2 separate regions of the Homo sapiens genome follow, and region 1 is linked to region 2. Evidence: promoter capture Hi-C in 16 types of primary human blood cells and fetal thymus (Javierre and others, 2016). All regions are on one chromosome and are shown on one strand. Each heading gives the region's core, a stretch centred on a gene start or on the middle of the fragment in contact. The rest is flanking DNA. Distances are from core to core; before and after follow the strand shown. Region 1 overlaps CHD8 (chromodomain helicase DNA binding protein 8). Region 2 holds the start of SALL2 (spalt like transcription factor 2).

Region 1 (6,426 bases), core at 1,137-3,636, 92 kb before region 2:
GAGCTTGGCAGTCCAAGGGCTTCCTCAATGGGGTCTTGTGTGACCTGGTTAAAGCTGTCATCAGTCAGAGAGTCCAGGCCAAATAAATTTGGGTCATCGAACAGATCCATGATGGGGTCTGCCATCTTGGGAAAGTAATGGAGGGTACTTCTCCAAGGTCTAGGGAGGGAAGGGGAGGGGGGGTACTGGCTCTCCCCTCCCCTCCCCTATTAAGAAAAAAATGTACACAATGTAAGAGGACTACTCTTCAAGTATAGAGGCAAGAAACAAGTGCATGTCAGATTGTCCTGACCTTCATGGAGCAAGATGGCTACGTCTTCAGAGGAAGATGGTGGAACTCCTGTTGTAGGAATACAAATACAAATGAAAAATAGGCAAAGTTGGCGATCTCAGAGAAAATTTTCCCTTCTTACGTACTGTTCTTAATATCAAATAGCATGAATATAAGAGGGAAATGTGAGGAAATCTGAGGACGGACATACAGCAGAAAGACACTCATATTTCTGCTTCAAAACTAAAACTAAAAGAGAAAAACAATAACAACCTCCTCTTGGGCACTTACACCTACAAACTTTAAAGACTCTGTCAAGAGCATTTGGCTGTCTTTCTCCGTTTCTTTTAACAATTATTATTCTTTGGTAAAGATAAAATTTAATATTCATTTACCTTCTATTTTCAGTTTTTAAGTTAGTAGAACTCAAAAATATGCCACCAGAATTACAGTGACTCTATAGATAAAGGTTTCTGGATATATTCTATTGTATAAATTTTTCTTGTGTTTTATATATTTTTACTTACTATTGGCAAAAATAACCACCTTTAACCAAGGCTTATAGTACAATCTCACCAAAGTGATCATACAATTTTACCCAGGAAGTTTTGCAACCTTTATTCTAGTTAACATATTAATCTATAATGGGATTTTTGTTCTGAAGTCCCCTCTCAAGAAAACTTTCTCATATTTAAGATAAAAAAGGTCAATTGCAAGGGATTCAACATTGTTTCCAATTTATATTCCCAACTTCCTCTTACCATCTCTTACATATATTTTACATTCCAGTCCAACTAGACTACACAATTCCCTTAATGTGATTCCTACCTGTGTGACTTTGCTTATGATGCTGTGCTTTCTGCCTGGAACACGTCCTCTCCATCCCAATGCCAATAATCTCTCGCAGCTAAAATCCTACCAACCCTCAAAGGTCTTCTACTCCATTAAGTGAGCCCTGAACCTCTGACGCTTTAACAACTGAGCAACTTGTGATGACTTGATCCCTCCACCTCCTTTAAATACCCACACCATTGTTTATACCTTAAAACACTTATATTTAATATTTTATTATAATGACCTAAGTCTGTAATATATCCTCTGAAGGCCCAAATGGTTCCTTTGCGCAAATTGTAAAAAGTTGCCCACTTCTCAAGATGCCTGGAAAACTGCCATACTAAATATATAAAAATTTGTTATGAATGTATGCAATGTACACCCTCCACAACTCTGTACCATGGCCCAGCTCCTCTTTCTCTGGGAGAAAGTTCTTGGATGGTGGGGACTATGTTTTATTTATCTGTGGATCCCCTAAGAACCAGCAGGACATAGCACATATAGTAGCTAATCAAAAAACAGTTAATGAATTATACTTGCTCGCATTATCTGGAGTAAACCATTCGATCCTCACAGAAACTAAATGGTATCCTTTGATTCTAACATGAGATGGTAAAAAGCTTCCTATCTTGAAAACATGTCTTATGAATGGCTGAAAGTAGGTTCACAAAATCCATGTCTAGGGTTTTAAGTTCATGAAACTAGTGGAAAAAAGAAAAGCTATCAAAGACAGGGAAGTATATCACCATAAAACCCAAATATATGAAAAAGAAATATCTGTTCTTTGTATATGATGACAGTATTTGACAATACAGGAAAGTCTTGCTTGGTAAGACCATTTCTCCTAACTTTTGGAAGACACCAGATAAGAAATTTGTCAGAGGCACAGTCCTGACTGAAGGAGACTTTTCCATATAACCCCCATGCTATGTTTTTTCCTTCCCAACCCATCTCACTTATCCTTATAAAACAATATAATATGGGTTAATATATCAGATACTCCAAAACAGACAAAGAGAACAAACACGTGAGTCAAAATTACAAAGTATACATGGTATCTCCAACAATGTTAAACAAGATCGTCCTTGCTTCAGTAATTGCATACTTTTCATATCTCAACCCAAGATCCATACCATCTCCCATTCCTGGCTAGCCTATTCCACCAGCTCATTCCAGCCTCTCATATCTAATATTTGCCTCCAAATTACTCAAAATGGCAATCAGGAAAGTTATGAATGCTTCCTGATTTAACGAAAACCTACTCAATAACTTGATATTAATAAATTTCCTTCCCATTATCATCAGCTTTTTTCCAGTATACCTACTTTGGCACCAATTATTTTTCATTCTCTACTCACCGTCAGAAGTTAAAGTATCTACAGCTAGGAGTAATATAAAAACAACAGTGAAAGTTTCTTTTTTTTTTTTTTTTTTTTTCTGAGACAGAGTTTCACTCTTGTCGCCCAGGCTGGAGTGCAATGGCGCGATCTCGGCTCACCGCAACCTCTACCTCCTGGGTTCAAGCGATTCTCCTGCCTCAGCCTCCCGAATAGCTGGGATTACAGGCCTGCGCCACCACACTCGGCTAATTTTGTATTTTTAGTAGAGACAGGTTTTCGCCACGTTAGTCAGACTGGTCTCGGACTCTCGACTTCAGAGGTGAGCCGTCGCCTCAGCCTCCCAAAGTGCTGGGATTATAGGCATGAGCCACCACGCTGAAAGTTTCTACTAACCAGAAGTTTACGTTGCAAATAGTTTATAGCCTGCTCCTTATTCCATGGAGTATTTTGTCGCTTCCATGATTCCTTGCTATTTGTTAATTCTAATGCTCTTCCTTTCCCCCATAATGATCCAATCTTAGGCCCAGATTTTTTTTTTTTTAAATAGGAGAAACAAGGCTGATGGTTTCTGATGAATCTCCTTACCCCCATATGACTTAGTATAAGCTTTTTAAAGATCAATGCATTGTCATTTATCTCTCCCTTCCCAATTTTCGAACCAAATTTCTGCTTCTTCTAGTTCGGTCTATGCCTAATAATTCAAAAACCTTGCCACCAAGTATCATTACTTCTCAGTCCCATCATTCTCACCTATACTGACCCAATTCATCTCATATTTTTATGCTAGTTTCCTACTTCTTTTCTAGTTCCTATCTTTAAACTGTCCTTGACTCTTACAAGATTAAACCTTCTCCCAACATACATCTAACTTTTTTTAACCCTCCTTCTACTACTACTTGTGGGTCACCCTGGCTATATCCACATACGGCCTATTTATTCTACCAAGCTCATCTATCTCATGAATCCTCTCAACCATCTCATGAATTCTCTTTCCTTGATTCAAACCCTAATAGCAAAAATGAACAGATGTTAAGTTGGTTTCAATGCAAAGTAACTGCCTAGATAAAGAAGTCACACCAACTTTTATCATATTAAGAATGAAAAGCCAGTGTTGGCCCACCAGTCCCCAAAAGAGAAACACATGTATGTGCTCAAAAGGAAAGACAAAACTTAGTGGTTGTACTTAGTCACTTTCCATAATTACAAACTAATGACCAGAATCATGACAGAAATCTTGGAGGGCATGTAGGGGGTGAGGGATGGCAGTGGAAGGGAAAAGTAACAAACTAGTCAGTTAAGGTTAAAATCCAAGCCCATCTATCTATAATCGCCAAGTAACAATACAGTTACCTGTAGAAAAATACTTTATTATATATGCCAGTATAGCCCTTCACTTCATCTCCTTCTTAAAGGTGAAACTACTGCTTCCCCTTGAGACAAGTACAAACTGATGTTCTTCTGCAGCTTTACCACCTTTAATACAGTTCTTGATTTTTTTGGAAATCTAGAGTCCCAACTCTCTCATTCTTATTTGACATTATTCCTCACCCTTGCCCATTTCTATAATAAACTGTCTGTCCTATGATAAAGTATTTTGTTTTAATTCTACCCTATATTTTTCCATCTCAATCTCTCCATACCTTTCAACAAAGCAGTGATTCTCAACCAGGGGATGGAGACTAAGGCCCTTAAGAAGGGCTTCTGGGAACCGAGGGTGGAGATAAATGTGCAGTTCTTAAAGGTGTATTCAATATTATAATTTTATATTTATCAAGTGAAAAAACTACATCTCATTGTTTAGGCTATTTATATTTATTAACACTGGACAAAGCCTTCTTGGCCAGTGAAGATCTGTAAAAGACACGTGAGGAGTAGAGGGCAGAGAAAGAAACATTCCTGGCTTGGCAGAGTTACCAGTATCTTTGGGATGGGATAAGATTTCCTATAGCCTCTCAAAAGGAGTTTATCATCATTTACTGTTTATGATGGATGAGAAACACTGCAAGAGATTAGTTCTGTCGTCTAATAGATAAAATTATGTAAAATGAGCTACAGATATCTATTGCCCACTTATAGATTTCTCCGTAGTGACAACCTCTTAGAAGACAATGAACGAATGCAGTATTGAGCCATGCTGACCTCTTTCTGTAATGTGCACTTTTAGAAAGTACCACTCATGACCACTTAACCTCTAGCTGCTCAAAGGTTCAGAAAAGAATAAACTATTTTATTTACTTCAAAGAACAAATCTTGTTGTTGGAAACTGTATCCTTTCAAGAAGATCAGTTGCAGATAGACATAAATACATGTTACTGAAACATAAGATGGGTAGAAGCAGCTTAATTTAAATGAGAAATACCTTGAAAATAAAATAATCCAAAGGGCTAAAATGAAAATCACCAACATAATTTTAAAAGAGAAGTATTTTAAAACTGTACCATGAAGACATTCGTGAGACACGAAGGGTCTCAAATCTTATACAGAAATGAAAAATAAACATCCAAAGTGAATGCAATCACAATTTAGGGTCAGCAAAGGATCAGGATGGAAAGACATAGGACCAAATTGGAGCCACTCAGATTTCCTAAGTAGATCAAGATCCTAGGCCATTTTCTCTGTCTTCACCATTCTCACTGCCAAATGTGTGGCTACTCTGTTTCTGTTTTCCAATTACTGAAAGAGAAAGCACTCACACCTCAATCAAGGGTATGGTCATTTGGGGGAATATAAGGCTGGTAAAGTAAGACCTTGTGAATAAATCGGAAAAGCAAAATAGGCAACTACGACAGCTAAAGACATGTATTTTCAGGGGGTAAAGAAGAAACTAGAGAGATTCTGCACTCATGAAAAAAGGGAAAGGGCGAGGTGAGGAAGTGAGGGGTTGATGGAGAGGAAAACGCGACTGGGGTGGGGGTGGGGGGGACCCGGGTACATTACCTGCTCATACTGCCGGGGTTGGTGCCAGTAAGGTCCATACAGCAGAGGCGGAAGATTTCTGGTAACTGGAGACCCCAAAATGGAAATGAGGTACATGCACTTGAGGTAAGGAGCTAGCGGGGGTGCCCTCCAGGGTGGGGATGGCCAAGACGGGAAGATGCGGGGGGTGGGGGGTGTGGATGCCCGGGATAGGAGCAATGTTAGGGCGGAAGCTGCAGGCCGAGAGGCCCGACAAGCCCTGAAGGAGAAAACGAGCTGTGCCTCACCCCAGTGGAGGAGAGAGGTGGCTTTACCTGCAGTGGCTGTGGGGGGCCGGTTCGCCCCTCTCCCTGTCTCTCCAGCACCAGTTCCCCCTCCTCCTGCGCAACCTAACCTGATGCTCCTGCCCGCCCCGCGCCATCATTGGCTGAAGCGCACTGCCACTCACCAAAGGCGAAAAGACGCAAAACAGCGCAAAGGGTGGGACTATAAGGAGCTCCCTTCCCCCTCCCCCGCAGGTTAGGTTGAGAGCGCACGGAGAGGCCTATCCGGTTTCTAGGGCCGAGGCGAAGCCTGCAGCTTGCTTGAAAAAAGGGGGCTGGCCAGAGGAACAGTCTCATAGTACGCGAAACCAGTCCTGGAGATTAAATTCCCTACCATCTACTCTGAATTCTTCACCCTGAAGAGTATAAACTTGGGAGGGAGGGTTCCGCGCTAGGCCAGCTCCGCCTCCCTCTGAATCCCCGGCCTTCTAGCAGCCCTGTCAACCCCTCTCCTGTAGTGACTACACCGTATCCCACTACCTAATAAAAGGGGCCAAATCTTCTTCCCTCCATCGTGGGAGTCAGCCCAGCTGGAATATGGGGCCTTTTAAAGCACTCTTTCTGCCACAACACATAAGGTTGCCGTGCATTTTTGACACTGTGACCCTTCAATACCAATACGGCTTTTTAGACAGTAATTCCTGGGGCCCTCTAACAATTCCCGACCCTTAGCCCGCTCAAAACAAACACTCCTCACCCTCTAAACTCGGTTTCCTGTTCTCCCATCTCTTGAAACTCAGCC
Region 2 (6,054 bases), core at 1,929-4,428:
GCTCCATTGGCTGAGGCTGATCCAGGCTGTCAGGTGGTGGTGGTGGTGGCAAAGAAGACTGTTGAGTAGTTTTCTCATTACTGTCCATCTCCTTCCCAGCTGTGGCTGCTGCCGCCACTGTCCCCACCTCCTCCTCTGCCCCAGATGCCTCTTCTGAATCACCTCTCACTGATATTGCCTTCTCACCTCCACTCTCTGAGCCTCTCCCTGCCAGGGAATCTTCATCAGTCACATCTTCCTCTTCTTCCTCATCCTCCTCTTCCTCCTCCTCAGACAACTCCTCTTCCGGTGATGGCTGCTGGGACTGCTGCTGGGGGAAACTCCGTGCCCCGGAGACTGTAGATTGCTCGGAGCCATTCTCCTGAGCAGCTCCTCCACCTTCAGGGAGTGCAGTACCACCGTTGGGGATCTGGCCCCCCAGGTGCATCCGGACATGCTGCTGCAGAGTGACAGCATTGGTGAACTTCTTCTGGCAGATGGGGCAGGAATTCTGTGCCCGGGCAGCTGGACTGGCCTTGTGGCCCACGAAATGTGCACGCAGATTACCCCTGGTGGAGAAGGCTCTGCCACACACTTTGCATTTGAAGGGCCTCTCACCTCCATGTTGGCCATAATGAAGGCGTAGGGCCCGAGGACAGCTAAGCACTCGGAGACAGATGACACACTGGTTAGGTCCAGAAGAGGCTGAGGATGAAGGTGCAGGGGCAGAGGTGGTGGGGGCTCCTGAGGCAGCTGAGGTCACCGCCACAGCTCCTTGCCGGTCAATCTTTTCTACCAGTTGCTGCAGCTTTGATGTCTCAGAGGGTGAGGCCCCCAAGGGCTCTAGCACATAGGGGAAGGGGAAGCTGCCAGTGGACTTGAAGTGGTTGGTAAGCAGTGCCCAGCTTGGTAGTGAAGTCACCAACTTACTTAGTTGCATGCGAGTTGCCGTGCTACTTTCTGCCACTCCACTGATGGCTGAGCCCTCACTCCCTGGGGGGGTGTTTTCATCAGCTTTATTCTTGGGTTCCACTGCTTTCATGAGCACAAACTTATTGAAAGCAGGGAGTCCTGGAGCCGTGGCTGTGCCTGCACTGGTGGAGAGCAGAGTCAGGCTCTCTGTGGCACTGAGTGCTGTTGTGGAGGCCACCAGAGGCTTGCGCTCAACCCCTCCACCTGGAGTGGCTGCCTCCTCCTCGGCCTTCTCTGGTGGCACGGACATACCATAAGGCAAGCCACTGCTGGTAATGACATAGTCTAGGTGCTCTGGTACTGGGTGTGGGTTCATCTGCACATGTGGGTACTTCTCACGATGCCGGTGGAAATGCACTTTGAGGTTGCCACGGGTGGTAAAACGGTTTCCACAGACATTGCACTTATAGGGCCTCTCACCCGTGTGGGAACGAAGGTGGATCTGCAGGGCACTGTCACTGCCAAATACTTTGGCACAGAAGCGGCATTTGTGCCTTCCACCAGGCTTCTCCAAGGGACCCATCACTTCTCCGTAGCTCAGCTCACCACTTCCATTCTTTGGCTTCAGGAGCCCTGGGGAGGCAGTGGCCTCAAGGCCTCGGGCTGCCCCAAGACACTGTGCTGCCAGTAGTCCCGTGGTGCTTGGGAATGCCAGATGAGGCGAGGCAATCAGCTGATCTGTGCTGCCTGGCAAGGCTGGGGAAGGGGCAGGGGTGGGTTTGTGGCTTCGCCCAACCCCTCCAGCAGAGAAAGGATGCTGTGACCCCAGTGGGTGGTAAAGGTGGAAGAAGGCCTGCTTGGGCGTTTCTGCCCCTGAAGAGGAAGAGGAGGAGGAGGAGGAAGATGCCAGTGTCTTGCTGGTTTGGACAGGCTTGATGGGGCTGAAGAGGGGTAGTAGGGGCTTGGTGGAAGAGGCAGTCCCTGTCCCAGGTAGCTCTGAGGGACTGGCAGGGGCACCCACCGTCTGGCCTAAGGAGCCAAGCAACAGCACCTGCCTGCAGATTTGCTCAGTCATCTGCATCTGATGGATCTGCCGCTGCTGCAGCACCCGTAGCTCTTCCAAGATCAGGGGGATATTCAAGTGGCCACTGCCTACCCCTGGGGGCGGAGGGGGTGGTGGAGGAGGAGGGGGTGCAGGGGTCGATTCTGGAGGTAATGGGGTTGCTCCCAGCTTGGGACTGGCCAAGATCAGGCCCCCGCCTCCCCCAGCCGCTGTACCTGTGGCAGCGACCAGGAAATGCCCTGAAGACTCCTCTCCTCTCCTCTCTGGGCCCCAGGTGGGATCCGTGGGCACGGAGGACCCAGAATCTGGGGGGTTGCTATGCTCTGTGTCCATGACCTGAGGATTATTGTGACCCTCAGGCCGGGGTTCAGAGGAGGCCGAAGAGTTGTTGGGGTTCTCCTGGCCCCCAATTATCACCATTACAGGAGGGTCAGTAGAACATGCGTTCTGGTGGGCGAGGAATTCAGTTGGGTCAGTGAATTGTGCGCAGCACTTGGCACAGACTTGGGGGTGATCCTCCTCGCTAGCATCACCTGGGGAGAAGACAAGGAGAGAGAGCGTGGGTGGCGCAGTTGGGTTGGGTATACCGAGGCTCTAATTAACAAGGAGGCCAGTAACCGCTAGTTGGGGGTGGGGAGATGAGCTCACCATCAGGGCCATGCAGAAGTCTAGAGCTCAGGCCTGATCCGTGTGGACAGGAGACAACCCGGCATGGGGCAGGGGGGTGGGGAGGGAGGAGGGGAGGGGGGCAAGAGCATGCTACTCCCCTCCTCAGCCACCCTCCCTTCCCCAGGCCACAAGCGAGTTCACGGAATAGGTGTGGGGACAGGGGCCTACGCAGAGAATCATGCATTTTCTCCCACCCACCGAAAGTCTTCGCCGCCCCTGCGCATCCCCCTCCGCCCCCACCCCTGCCCAGCCCGACCGACCCTACCGCACCTCCGAGCTCTGCCGGCTCCCCGCAGGGCACCCCGAGACGAGAGCTCCTCTCGGATTCGTGCGCCATGGTTGTGGGGGAAGTGGAGGGCCAGGTGGGGTGGGAGACAATGGATATTGGGATTGAGGGAGGCGATGGCCGCTGGGTCTGCGGCAGCCTCTGCACCCAGCGGCCCAGACTGCGGAGATGGAGATCGGCAGCGGCGGGGGCAGGGAGCAGCGGCGGAGGGGGAGGGGAGCGAGGAGGCGGGGAGAAGCTGGAGTGAGAAAGCGGGGAGAGGGGAGATCTGGGAGGAGCTGATGAGGAGGGGAGTTTATGGGGAGGAGCTGCTGGGGAGGGAGGCGGGAGCTAGAGGAGGCGGGAGAAGGGAGCGCTAGCGGGGGCGTGGGGGCGGGAGCTCAGAGCTCGGGAGAGTTTCCGGAGGCGCAGTGACAGGTGCTGTGAAGCACTGCGGGGGTCCACCTTTCCCGGTCCCTGGCCAGCTCCCCCCATCTGCAGATGCCTTTGCCCAGGCCTACCCTCCTCCCCCCGCCCTCCCCTCCTAAGCTCTAGGGGCACAGTGGGAAACGTAGCCCTGCTCAGTGGAGCAAGGCGATAGGCTTCTCTTATTTTTCTTTGGATAAAGGATCCGCTGAGCTTGGAAAAAGTGGATTCCAGAGAGGGTCGTCTGATCTCCTCAGAGGTCTGAGGGCCAGAAGAAGAGGGGGAGATCAGAACATCCACTCCTCACCAGCACACACACCCCAAAATATTCGAAGTTTTGTCTCGTCTTTCTCACTTCCATTCCCACCCTACCCCCATCCCTCTCCACAAAAGAAGTTTCTCAGGGTGGGCGGCTGCAAGGTAGAATTTCCCAGGAAGTCATTTCAGGACTCTCTGCGGAACACTAAGCCCCTTCACTCCCCGCCCCTCCTCCCCCTGAATAATAGCTGAATGCAGGTTACTCCGCAGATCGCCCAGCCTACACAACACCTAATTCATAGAGTCCATGCTTATTTAATAAGCCATCTCCTATTTAGTACCCTCTTCCTCCTCTATTCTCCTCTTGCAACATTCCTCACACCGTCACTATTAAAGACAGTGGGTTTGGGGAGACGCTAGCCTGCAGAGGCCTACGGAGGCCCACCCAGCTCTAACCTGGGGGGGAGGGGAGCCCTCTTGAAACAATGCGGTAGGAACTACCAGGCAGCCCTCAGTGTCTAAAGCCCTTTCAGCCCCAGCCTGATTTGAATGCTTAGAAATAGCTAACACCTGCTCACCATCACAGAGGCAGCCTCCTATTCAGACAGGATAAGTAAGAATAAAATGCCTCCTGGACCAGGTATTCTGGCATTCTCTTTTTTACCTTGAAATGAGTCTTAAAGTGCTTCCCACTTCCTAAAATACTTTCTCTTACATGCAGGAAGTGACCACAAGTCCTTGGTTTTGTGGTTTCCCTGGGCATCAGTAAACCTAAATTGTTTTAATCCCAGTTCTATTCTTGCCTCACTGATAAAACTGAGACATGGTGGTCAGTCACACCATGTTATACCACCGTTTCCCTCTTCATAAAGTGGTAATATTGTAGCTGCAGTATTTTACTCAGAAAAATATTGTGGGGACAAAAAATTGAAAAATTGGACAATATTAATGTGTAAACCAGGTATGGTGGTGCACACTTGTAGCCCCAGCTACTTGGGAGGCTGAGGCAGGAGAATTGCTTTAGTCCAGGAGTTTGAGGCTGCAGTGAGCTGTGATCACACCTGTGAATAACCACTGCCCTCCAGCTTCGGCAACATAGTGAGGCCCCATTACTTTAAAAAAAAAAAAAAGCCGGGCGCGGTGGCTCACTGTAATCCCAGCACTTTGGGAGGTGGGCAGATCACGAGGTCAGAAGTTCCAGACCAGCATGGCCAACATGTTGAAACCCCGTCTCTACTAAAAATACAAAAATTAGCTGGGCATGATGGTACACCTTTAATCCCAGCTACTGGGGCAGCTGAGCCAGGAGAATGGCTTGAACCCAGGAGGTGGAGGTTGCAGGGGGCTGAGATCGTGGCATTGCACTCCAGCCTGGGCAACAAGAGTGAAACTGCGTCTCAAAAAAAAAAAAAAGTCTAAAAAAATTAATATGTACATGTGAGATTTTTAAAGTTTGGGGAGTCCTGAATTTAATCAATGAGATAATTTACATTGTCAGTAGCAAAATAATCGAAGTAACCTTAAATACACATATACTAAAATTAGATCTGTTTTCCATGTTGTTTGTTAATCTTATTAATTTCTGAGGTAAGATATTGGCTAATATCAGCAGCATATTTCAAAGGTAGGAAGTCTTTTATTGCAGTGGGTGGGGGAGCTGAAACAACCTATTTAAAATATTAGTAACATCCACTTTACTTCTCAACATAAATTTTGCCTGTGTTTTTAAACTTAAAACAGTTTACTGAATTATGTTTTGAAACTTCAGATAATAAGGCTCTTAGCATTGTGAGTCATAATTCTGAAATGGACGGGTTCTGTGCTTCCAGGCCTGGACTTACAAATGAGGGAGGGGGGTTCTATTTCAGTTTATGGCAAGTCACAGTTTTGTGCAATGTGGTTTATTTTTACAGATAAGGAAACTGAAGCTTGGAGAGGTTAAGTGACTTTTCCAAGTTCACACAGTAATTCAGTGAAGCAAGCATTCAGAATTTTGACTCCTGTCCAATGCTTTCTCAAGCACATCAACTTTGTATGGCTTCCCTAATGCTAGAGAAAGGGCCCTGTGTGGCTTCTACCTGCCATTTGCTCCCTGGCCTTAGTCAGGGAGAGGGAATCAGATGGAGGCTTTCTACTGAGCATTTGTTAATTAGCATTGAACATTTGATATCCAGTTGCTGTTTTGTCAAGTCTTCTGACAAGAAAAGAAATCCTTTTCTTTTCATCTTCTCCTGGGAAACACTGTCCCCTTTCTTGCTCTTTAATGAAATGTGCTTTCTGATGCGTAATTTGATCTAAGCTCTTCTTTAAGGTAAATTTAGTCCCTGGTGAAAGGTGACTGGATCAACAGCCACCTGTAAGAGGAACCCTCCATTTCTCAGTACTTTGCACTCACTGCACATCCTGAAAAGGGGGGCAGGATTCTTACACAAACATGAATGAAGTCACAAATGCAGGAATAAACTAAACTGGTAATGGTGTC

Evidence for each region. Contacts are between HindIII fragments. The CHiCAGO score rates a contact against its expected background, and 5 or more counts as called.
Region 1: a contact is called between a fragment that was not itself captured here and the fragment with the promoter of SALL2 in region 2, in 1 of 17 cell types (fetal thymus). The highest score is 5.2, in fetal thymus.

What each region holds. Positions count from the first base shown.
Region 1 is chr14:21,431,519-21,437,944 of GRCh38, forward strand. CHD8 (chromodomain helicase DNA binding protein 8) reads right to left here. Exons shown (of 38, transcript NM_001170629.2): 2 at 1-340. The coding sequence starts at 125. Among named protein-coding and RNA genes, the nearest start is that of CHD8, 21 kb to the right of the region's middle. RefSeq lists enhancers at 5,644-6,187, 5,975-6,134, 6,165-6,344. The HindIII fragment of the contact is 1,326 bases long and covers 1,724-3,049 here.
Region 2 is chr14:21,523,168-21,529,221 of GRCh38, forward strand. SALL2 (spalt like transcription factor 2) reads right to left here and starts at 3,179. Exons shown (of 2, transcript NM_001364564.1): 1 at 2,894-3,179; 2 at 1-2,487. The coding sequence starts at 2,960. RefSeq lists silencers at 410-596, 3,057-3,116 and enhancers at 1,112-1,939, 2,770-3,597, 3,598-4,425. The HindIII fragment of the contact is 14,095 bases long and covers 1-5,498 here.